2 separate regions of the Homo sapiens genome follow, and region 2 is linked to region 1. Evidence: promoter capture Hi-C in human tissues and cell types (Jung and others, 2019). All regions are on one chromosome and are shown on one strand. The core of a region is centred on a gene start or on the middle of the fragment in contact, and the rest is flanking DNA. Distances in the headings are between cores, read along the strand shown. Region 1 holds the start of EIF5A2 (eukaryotic translation initiation factor 5A2). Region 2 has its middle 52 kb from the start of EIF5A2.

Region 1 (5,059 bases), core at 203-2,702:
AGATTCTTTTTCTCCTCCTTCCAAGGTCATCTAATTTTACTTAAAAAAAAATGTAGTGGTCTTACAATTAAGAGGCAGTAAACAACTAAACAGTATCACGACATGTCAAGACCCAATATAGACCAGTGATTCAATTATGAGATTACACAAGAAAAATAAAGTGTAGATTTCTTAGAATTGCTAGAACAGGTTTTCTCATCTGTAAACTAAATAGATCTTATAGGTCACTAGGATTCAGGAAAGTTTCAGTTCCCAGTTAATGAACATTGTAAGGGCCCAAGAAGGGAATGCTACCTTTAAGTATTCAACGTAATAACTGATTACCCAGTAATTGTGGGAAGGAAAAAATAGTGCTTATTACAAAATTTTAAGTATAGAAATCTCATGATCTGTAACGGAATACAAATGATCAAAGTCCCAACGCCGAAGCCAAAGCCTGATCTGCAAGGGTACTTACCTTGGCATGACCATGCTTTCCAGTTTTGGAAGTTGACATCTCCACTATTTTGCATGGTCGTCCTTTGAGCACCACGAAGCCGTTTTTGCGCAAGGCCGAGCACTGCATAGGGTAAGTGCTGGAAGCCCCGGCATCTCCAGTAGTGAAATCAATTTCGTCTGCCATGGTGGGCAGGGGAGATGGTAGTTTTTCCGTGGGAACTACACAAAAAGTTTGTGTTTGCTTTTTAACAACGGGTATGTAGGCAGGGAAACGTCTCATTTCGGACAAGTTATGTGCCAAGCATCATGGGCCCGTTATTTCTGCATGTAAGGAACACCCACCCTAGACTAGTGGCCACTTTCTAACTCTGGCCTCTACAAACTTTTCCAGCTACTGCTTGGGGAGGTGGGATGAGAAGTCGCAGAGGAGCTCGCTGAGGGTGGGGACACCCGCCCTGGGCGCTCCTCCGTGCTGGAAACAGCAGGTTGCGGCCCCCATCGCCCCACCGCAGAAGCCGGCGACCTTCCCCCGCCGCCCAGCCCTCGGCCGCCGCCCCGAACCCTACTGCGGGGGACCCAGCCCAGGCCGCAGGTCCCCGCGAAGGATGCGGGGTAACAGAACCTGGCCAGCAGCACCCGGCCCTCTGCTAGCTGGCGCGCACCCCGCCCTCCACCCTTCAACGTCGCCGCCGCGGCCGCACAGGCGCCCCCTGTTCTGCCGGCATCCAGGGCTCAGCTCGGCCCGGCCCGGCCCCACTAGGGCCTGAGCCCCGGCGGGTCCCGCGCTCGCCTCTGTTCCCCCATCCATTCTCCTTCTTTCTCTCGGTCAGCGCTCAGTTCTGGGCGCCTTCCCCGGCCCTGCCTCACTCTGGCCCCATCCCCACCAGCTTTTCCCCACCAGCTTTTCCCCAGGTCTTCACCTTTCAGCTGGCAAAGAGCGCCTTTCGTCTGCGCACCCGCGCTGGTCCCCTACAGCAGCGGCGCCGGCAGCGGCGGTGGCGGCCGCGGCAGTTCCAAGAGACGGGGCGGGGCCGCCACACTTTCCACACCCCAGCCTCCCCGCCCTTACCCGCCCCCACTCAGCCCTATTTCCGGGATAGGCCCCGGAGCGTCACAGGCACCGCCCTCTCGGGCTACCATTGGCTACCAGATTCCCGAGGCTCCGCCCAGTCACGTGAAGAGCGCCCTGGCAACCCCACGTGCTGCGGATTAGTGCACTTCCGGCGTGGAGCGCACTTTCAGCAGTCTGGTTGCCGAGGGTGAGCTCGCTGGCAGAGGAACTTGCGCCTTCCAACTCTTAGGTTTGTTGCGTTCGGGTCGCAGTCGACTTTAATGGGAACCAAGCAAAGCACCCAATGGCCCCTGCCATCAGGTGCGTGGCAGTTATCACATGACGATCGTCAGAACTCGCGAGGCGCGCAGATTCAGCGAGTGCCAGTGTGGCTGGCTGTGAAGCGAACTTTGGGTTCGAGCTTCTGGTTCAGCTTGCAGCCTTTCTTGGGGTTCGAACCTCCTCCTGGTCCTTAAAGAAGAATTCAGGTGCAGTATTTTATTACCCAGCTCGGCACCGCAGGTCCTGAGGACCCCCCATTCACCCCTTGGTGAGATTTTTGGCAGCGACTGCCGCCGGATGCCCCTGTAGAGTCAGCACTGCTCCCTGGGGTGGGAACTCCCGAAGCGTCCGCCAGCTAACAAGCCAGCAGTGAAATGAATTAACCCACTTCTCACACCAAAGGCTGTTGGGAAGTTGTGGAGGCGAAGGGTGTCTGACTCCTACGGCATTGTGGGTCCAGAGAGGTGTTCTGCCGACTCATCCATTCTTTCCTCCTGGCATTGGCATTCCTTAGAGTTTGGGGTTTAACCCTGGCACATTAGAACGCTTGGATGGTCTTCAAAATTGACCTAGAGCTTGTAGACTGCCATAGAAAGGTTCTTAAAAGAGATGTGCTCCCCCTTCACAGTTTCATTTCGCAACCTACCGCAGTATCCTATCTTGGGGAGGTGATCTAGGAAATTATTTCCCATCCCACACCCGCATTTATGTGGTAACTTTGATTTCCTATTGCTGTCTCATGAATAATCCCATATCTCACATTCCTGTATGACTCTACAGTTTACACATATCTTTCAAACAGGTCCAATTTAACTTTCGCAATAAGTTACTGCCCTCTCATGTACTGAATTCAGCCTCTAGCTAATATACAAAGGAGCCATTACAGCAGTGGCTCATGCCTGTAATCCCAGCACGTTGGGAGGCTGAGGCAGGTGGGTTCCCTGAGCTCAGGAGTTCGAGATCAGCCTGGGCAGCATCGTGAAACCCCGTCTCTACCAAAAATACGAAAACTTAGCTGGGCATGGTGCTGTGCACCTGTGGTCCCAGCTACTAGGGAGGTTGAGGTGGGAGGATCACTTGAGCCTGGGAGGTGGAGACTGCAGTGAGCCGAGATCCGGCCACTGTACTCCAACCTGGCTGACAGAGTGAGACCACCCCCCCCACCCCCAACACCCCAAAAAGAAAGAGCCAGATTAGAATCTTGGTTCATTAGCTCTTTCTGCTTTTCCTTATACCTCCTAACTTTTCCCTATTGTTTTTACAATGATCGCTAATAGTATTTAGTATTTATATAGGCAGGTAGTGTACTAAATTTTTGATGTGCATTATTCCTTTGTTTGTCACTGCTGCTTTCTATTTTTAACCTTGTTAAGTTATTCATATAAAGAAAAATTTGTCCCTTTTCTTTTTATGAGTTTTGAAAAACATATCTTGATCATCTGCTATGATCAAGATATGGAATATTTCCCTCATTCCAAAAGTTTTCTAGTGGCTTTTTGTTCTCAGTTTCCTCCCTCTACACCCAGCCCCTGGCAAATATTAACAGTACTTTTTTAACCTGCATTTTTAGTTACGGAAAAAGGAGAAAAGCAATTTGCCCCAGATTACAAAGCTAGTAAGTTGGAAAACCAAGGTTGGAACCTAGGCAGTTTGGTTCCAGAGTCACTGCTCTACCTACCACCATATACTGCATTCACAAAAGATTTGGGTTTGGAATCAAATGACTGAGCATTACTCATTCAATAAATACAGTCAGTTCTCCTGAAGTCAGTAAGAACACTGAATTGGCAAATACTAAACCATTGCTCCTAGGGGAAATACAGGGTTAGGTTCCTCTGAGCCTCTGGGCCACAACATTGGTTAATATGTGATTTTTAGTGTGTTTCCATTTAAAGACACCTGATTTCCTATATATTGTTGGTTCATTAACATTAAACTCATGGCCAACAGCAATGTAATTCATACCTGAAGGTAGCTTATCTAACATATGCTCTCTGTAAGGCACACTGTAGCTTTCTTGTGTTTTGGAACATTAGACAGCTCTTCAGCACAGTGCTTGGGGGCCATTTTGAATGGTGAAATCACCAACAAAAAGCACAACAATGCAAAAACTGGCAATAAATAGACTGAAAAGAATACTGGTTAACAGTTTGACGACTGAAACAAGAAGGCAGAGCATGGCTGAGTTTGACCTCAGCTAAATGTGCGTTAGATGGCACGAGTCTCTGTGCATGTTCACAAATGACTTCAAAAGCACTGCAAGTATTGATTTTAAGATTATAAGTAAATTATGTCAAGTATGCAAATTTGCAAATATGGAATCCAAAAATAATGAAGATTGACTATGTGTACTTTAGCAGCCTTACCTCTGGTATTACTGTGTTGACCAAGACAGCCTCTGGTTCCTAAGGTGCTTGCAGTCTATTGCAGAAGACAGTCTAGTAATTTTAAAATATGAAACAAATGCTAGTAAAGAAATAACTATAAGGCACTGAAAAAAGGGGCTTATTTAGGCTAGGTGGTGTCCAATTAAAATATGATACAAGCCACATATAGTTTTGAGTTTTCTTTTAGACACATAAAGTTAAAAAATGAAACTAATTTCAATAGTATATTCTGTTTAACTGAATATGTCCAAAATATTATTTCACATGTAACCAATATAAAAATATTACTAAGATATTTTACTTTTTATCCATACTAAGCCTTCAAAATCTGGTGTATTTTACACTTTCAGTACATCTAAATTCAGACTAGCTATAATTCAAGTGCTCAATAACTAGGCATAGTTGGTGGCTATCATATTGGGCATCATAGGTCTAGAAGGTTCAGGAACTGCTTCTCTCGGGGGATATCAGTTTGAGATTTGAAAGACAAATAGAAGTTAGCAATGGAGAGGAGTTTAGAAAGGGCACTTTAGGCAAAGGAAATGGGGTTACAGAGGTGTATTGTGACAGAATCGTGGCACCATTTGTACTGTAAATGGCGTAGTATGATGGTGTGTACTGTAAAGATGGGTGAATTCGGACTTTCTCCCAAGGGCAATAGAGAAGCATTGAGACAGTACATACAAGAAAATGATAAATTTTTTATTATTTTTAAATTTTTTTAATTAAATTTTTTTTTGAGATGGAGTGTCGCTGTGTTGCTCCAGGCTGGAGTGCAGTGGTGTGATCTCGGCTCATTGCAACCTCCACCTCCCAGGTTCAAGCCATTCTCCTGCCTCAGCCTCCCGAGTAGCTGGGAGTATAGGTGCCTGCCACTACGCCTGGCTAATTTTTTTTTTTT
Region 2 (4,983 bases), core at 2,477-4,976, 53 kb after region 1:
TGATGGTCTCTCCAACTAAAGGACATTATTTAATACAGAACATTTCTTATAGTGCAGGTCTGCTGTGACAGATTCTTTTAGTTTTGTACCTTTGAAAAAAATCTTTATCTTCATTTTCGAAAGATATTTTTGTCAGGTGGTGTGTATTGAGTTGTGTCCCTACAAAAGATGTGTGAATGTCCTAAGCCCTAGCACCTGTGACTGTAGCCTTATTTGGAAATAGGGTCTTTACAGATTTAATCAAATTAAGATGAAGTCATATTGATTACACGTGCTTTAAATCCAATAACTGGTGTCCTTATAAGGAGAGAGAGATTCGGAGACACAAACACTTACTCTCTGTCACACACTCACACACACACAAAGTAGGGAGACAGAAGATGGCTTTGTGAAGATAATAGCAGAGATTAGAGTTATGTGTAATCTGTCTGCATCCACTACAAATCTGGGAAGATAAGAAAAGATTCTTCCTTAGAGCTTCAGAAGGAGCATGGCTCCCTCATCACCTCTATTTCAGACTTGATTTTGGAATCTGGCCTGCAGAACTGTGAGAAAATACATTTCTGTTGTTTTAAACCACCCAGTTTGTGTTACTCTGCTATGGCAGCCCTAGGAAACTGATGCACCAGGTATAGAATTCTGGTTGAGAGTTTTTATATTTCAGTCCTTTATGATGTTGCTTTACCGACTTACCTTGTTTCTAACTAAAAATCTGATGTCTTTCTTATCTTTGTTTCTCTGTGTTAATCATGTTTTTTCCCTTTGCTGCTTTTAGGATTCTCTCTTTATTACCACAATTGTGCAATTTGATTATAATATACCCTGGTATAGTTTTCTTCATGTTCCTTATGCCTAGGGTTCATTGAATTTTCTGAATTTGTGGGTTTATGGTTTTATTACATTTGAAAAGTTTTTTGCCTTTATTTCCTCAGTCATTTTTTCTATAGCCTCCCTGATTTGTGAACTCCAATTGCCCGTACATGAGGCTGCTTGAAGTTGTACTACTCACTAATTTTTTTTCTTTTTAAAATATGTTCTTTTTTCTCCATGTATTTTATTTTGGATAGTTTCTATTGCTATTCCTTCAAATTCACTAAACTTCTTCAATGTCCAATCTGTCATTAATCCCATCCACTGTATATTTTATCTTAGTTATTGTGTTTGATTTGAATCTCTTTTATATTTCTAGGTCTCAACCTTGTGAACATATGTAAAAGCTGTTTTAATGTCTTTCTCTGCTAATTATAACATCTTCGTCAGTCCTGAGTTGATTTCTATTCATTGATTAGTCTTCTCTTTATGTGTTGTGTTTTCCTTCTCCTTTCCATGGCTGGTGATCTTTGGTGAGATGTCAGACATTGTTAACTTTAACTTGTTGAGTGCTGGATATTTTTGTATTCCTATAAATTTTCTTGAGCATTGTTCTCAGATACAATCAAGTTACTTGGAAACAATTTGATTTTTTTAGGTCTTGCTCTTATGATTTTTCAGGTGGGTCCAGAGCAGCACTCAGTCTAGAGCTAAATATTTCCCAGTGCTGAGATAATGCCTTCCTGAGTACTCTACTCAATGCCCCTGATTTATGAGATTCTTACAGCTGGCTGGTGGGAACAGTCACTGTTCCCAGGCCTGTGTGAGTTCTACACATTATGTCCTTTATTCTTTCAGATGGTTCTTTCCCTGGCTTTAGGTAGTTTTCTTAAACACATTTACGTAATTTTTTTTTAAATTTTTACTTTAAGTTCCAGGATACAGATGCAGAATATGCAGGTATGTTACATAGGTAGACATGTGGCCATGGTGATTTGCTGTACACCCTCAATTCCCTTTGGATACTTGGAAAGCTTTCTCAAGGACAGGTGTAAACAGGCCCAGAATGCAAAGATTGGAATAAATACCTAACTCTTCAATACCCAGACACCAGCAAACATCCACAAGCATCAGAAACATCCAGGAAGCATGACCACACCAAATGGACTAAATAAGAGACTAAGGGCAAATCCCAGAGAGACAGAGACATGTAATCTCTCAGAGATTTCAAAATAGGTGTTTTAAAAGACAATGAAATTCAAGATAACACAGAGAAGAAATTTAGAATCCCGTCAGATAAATGTAACAAAAAGATTGAAATAATTGTTAAAAATCATGTAAAAATCCCAAAGCTAAAAAATACAATTGATAAATGGAAGAAAGCTTCAGATTCTCTCAACAGCAAAGTGGATTAAGTGGAAGAAATAATTAGTGACCATGAAGACAGGCTGCTTAAAAATATACAGGCAGAGGAGACAAAAAAGAATAAAATGGAATGAAACATGCCTGCTTGGCCGGGCGCGGTGGCTCATTCCTGTAATCCCAGGACTTTGGGAGGCTGAGGTGGGTGGATCACGAGGTCAGGAGTTCAAGACCAGCCTGGCCAAGATGGTGAAACCCCGTCCCTACTAAAAATACAAAAATTAGCCAGGTGCAGTGGCAGGCACCTATAATCCCAGCTACTTTGGAGGCTGAGGCAGGAGAATTGCTTGAAACCGGGGGGGTGGAGGTTGTAGTAGGCCGAAATCGCCGCATTGCACTCCAGCCTAGGCGACAGAGTAAGATGCCATCTCAAAAAAAAAAAAAAGGAAAAATGCCCACAAGATCTAGAAAATAGCCCCTAAAGGGCAGATCTAAGAGTAATTGGCCTTAAAAAAGAATTAGAGTGAGAGTCCAGGATACAAAGTTTATTTGAAGAGATAATAACAGAACTTTCCAGACCTAGAGAAAGATATCAATATTCAAGTACAAGAAGGTTATAGAATAACAAGCAGATTTAACCCAAATAATATTACCTCAAGACATTTAATAATCAAACTCCCAGAGGTCAATGCTTTCCTTCAACAGATAGTATTTATTGAGCACTTTTTGTATACCAGGCACTGTTCTGGATACTGAGGATGGAGCAGTGGGCAGTGAACAAAACAAACAAAATCCTTCTTCTCATGGAGCTGATACTTCAGTGGGAAGAGACAGGCAAGAAAAAAAAAAAAGGAAGAGGGAAAGCCGCTAAATGCTAAGTGTCAATAAATGTTAAGTAAAATGGGGGCAGAAAAGCAAAGACAGAAAAGCACCCTACCCCAATGGGGGTAGGGTGGATCTTGGATAAGATAGTCAGCAAAGGCCTCCATGGAAGGCCAAAATAAAAAGTGAGAATTGCTCTAGATTAAAAGAGACCCCTGAAACATGTCAACCAAATGCAAAGCGTAAGTCTTGATTACATTCTGGCCTTAAAAATGCAAACTTAAAAACATTTTTTTTGATGAAAACTTGGAAGATTTGAATATAGATTGCATATTAGATGATGGTGTAAAATTATTAATTTTTCAGGTAAGGAGATGGTATTGTCATTATGCAGAGGGTATCCTTTCAGGAAGTTTATGCTGACAGTTTTTGAATTGTTTTAGTGTCTGTAGTTTACTTTCAGATGGTTCAACACATAGAGGAAGAACTAAAGCAAATGTGGCAAAACATAACAATTGGTAAATATGATGAAGGTGTAAGGGTGTTATTACAGTATTCTTTAAAATTTTATGTATGTTTGAAATGTTTTCAAAATAAAAACTTGGCAGAAAAAAAGATGGAATTTAGGGTTGTTGGAGTCGATCTGAGTTTTCATCACCAGGTGGTGCTAAAGCTTTTCAAATGTAGTTAAATTAACAGCAAACAATCTGTGCTGACAGTTGCATATTAATTTAGGAAAAATTTGGGTGGGAGGAACATAGACTATAAATCAAGCTTTTTAAATTTGCCAATTTTACTCTTGCTTGCATTATTATATTTTACACAATTTGAAGAGGTTCAGCTATACGTTTTCTGGCTGTCAGTTTCCTTCTCTTCGACCTTTCTCATTTCCAGGCCCTTATTTTCTTCTCACAAAAGAGCTACTGTGATAATTCCCAACACCAGATGCCACTGTGATCCACACTGCTCACAGAGTAACCTTCGTGCAGCATTTCTGTCCCCTTCATCAGCTCCCTATTCCCCTCCAAATAGTTTCCACTCCTCAGCAAAGAATTTACAGTTTGATACCAATCTTCTTTTCCCAGTGTATCTATTATTGTTGCCTTGCATTAACCCTACTCAGGAGAAACATTGACTGCTGTCCTTTTTTTTTCAAATAAATGTCATACACTTTCTTGCCACTGACTATTCTGCTTTGTGTGTCTCCATACTCCCAATGCCCTTCTGCCTATTGCCAGTTCAAAATCTGACCTTGCCCATCATTGAAGCCTGAATTAAATATCATTTCCCTCATGACAATTTCCCCAAACACCTTACTCAGAAATATTCCTCTTTCTACAGCACTTTTAAATTTTCTTACCAAACTGATAACATTTTGTATTACATAATAATGTGTGTACACTAAATTATAAACACCTCCAAGGTAGGCAGTTTATGTTTATAGTCTTTGGATTGTGTTTAATATGATGTGGAATTTACTAAAGGTCAGTGGAATTGAATTTCAAGATTATTCAGAAGTAGTTTATAGTAGTGGTAAAAGTACTGACTAATTACCACCAACTGCCAGCCTTACTCTGGTTGTTCATTTCACAGATAAGCAATGAGAGGCCACCATAGTGAGAAACCAACCTGGATAAAGGATGTTCATGGCTTAGCAGCCCCACCTACCAAAAAAAAAAGTTATCAATTTGAAGTAAAATTTCCTTTCAATTTGAGTCTGTCAAAACCCTTAAATTCTTGAATGTCATTTGATCTATATATTCTTCTAGGTAAAAACATGAAAAGAATGATCAAAGATTTGCTTTAAGAATATTTCGTATATGTTACAAAATATGTTTGTAAAAGCTAAAAATTAGAAGCAGCCTAACCAACAATACAAAGTTGGTTAAAGACATTCTAATATATCCATACAATGAATTACTATGGAGCTATTAAAAATGGTGCTCGAGAACAATATTTAGTGGCATAGAAAGAGGCCCCCAGTGTTAT

Evidence for each region. The method cuts DNA at HindIII sites, captures the fragments that hold promoters and counts their contacts. A contact is called where the count stands out against the background at its distance.
Region 2: a contact is called between a fragment that was not itself captured here and the fragment with the promoter of EIF5A2 in region 1, in 2 of the 25 tissues and cell types used here (hippocampus and stomach).

What each region holds. Positions count from the first base shown.
Region 1 is chr3:170,907,185-170,912,243 of GRCh38, forward strand. EIF5A2 (eukaryotic translation initiation factor 5A2) reads right to left here and starts at 1,453. Exons shown (of 5, transcript NM_020390.6): 1 at 1,359-1,453; 2 at 458-657. The coding sequence starts at 622. RefSeq lists a silencer at 974-1,113. The HindIII fragment of the contact is 14,095 bases long and covers 1-5,059 here.
Region 2 is chr3:170,958,077-170,963,059 of GRCh38, forward strand. No RefSeq gene overlaps it. Among named protein-coding and RNA genes, the nearest start is that of EIF5A2, 52 kb to the left of the region's middle. The HindIII fragment of the contact is 3,416 bases long and covers 2,019-4,983 here.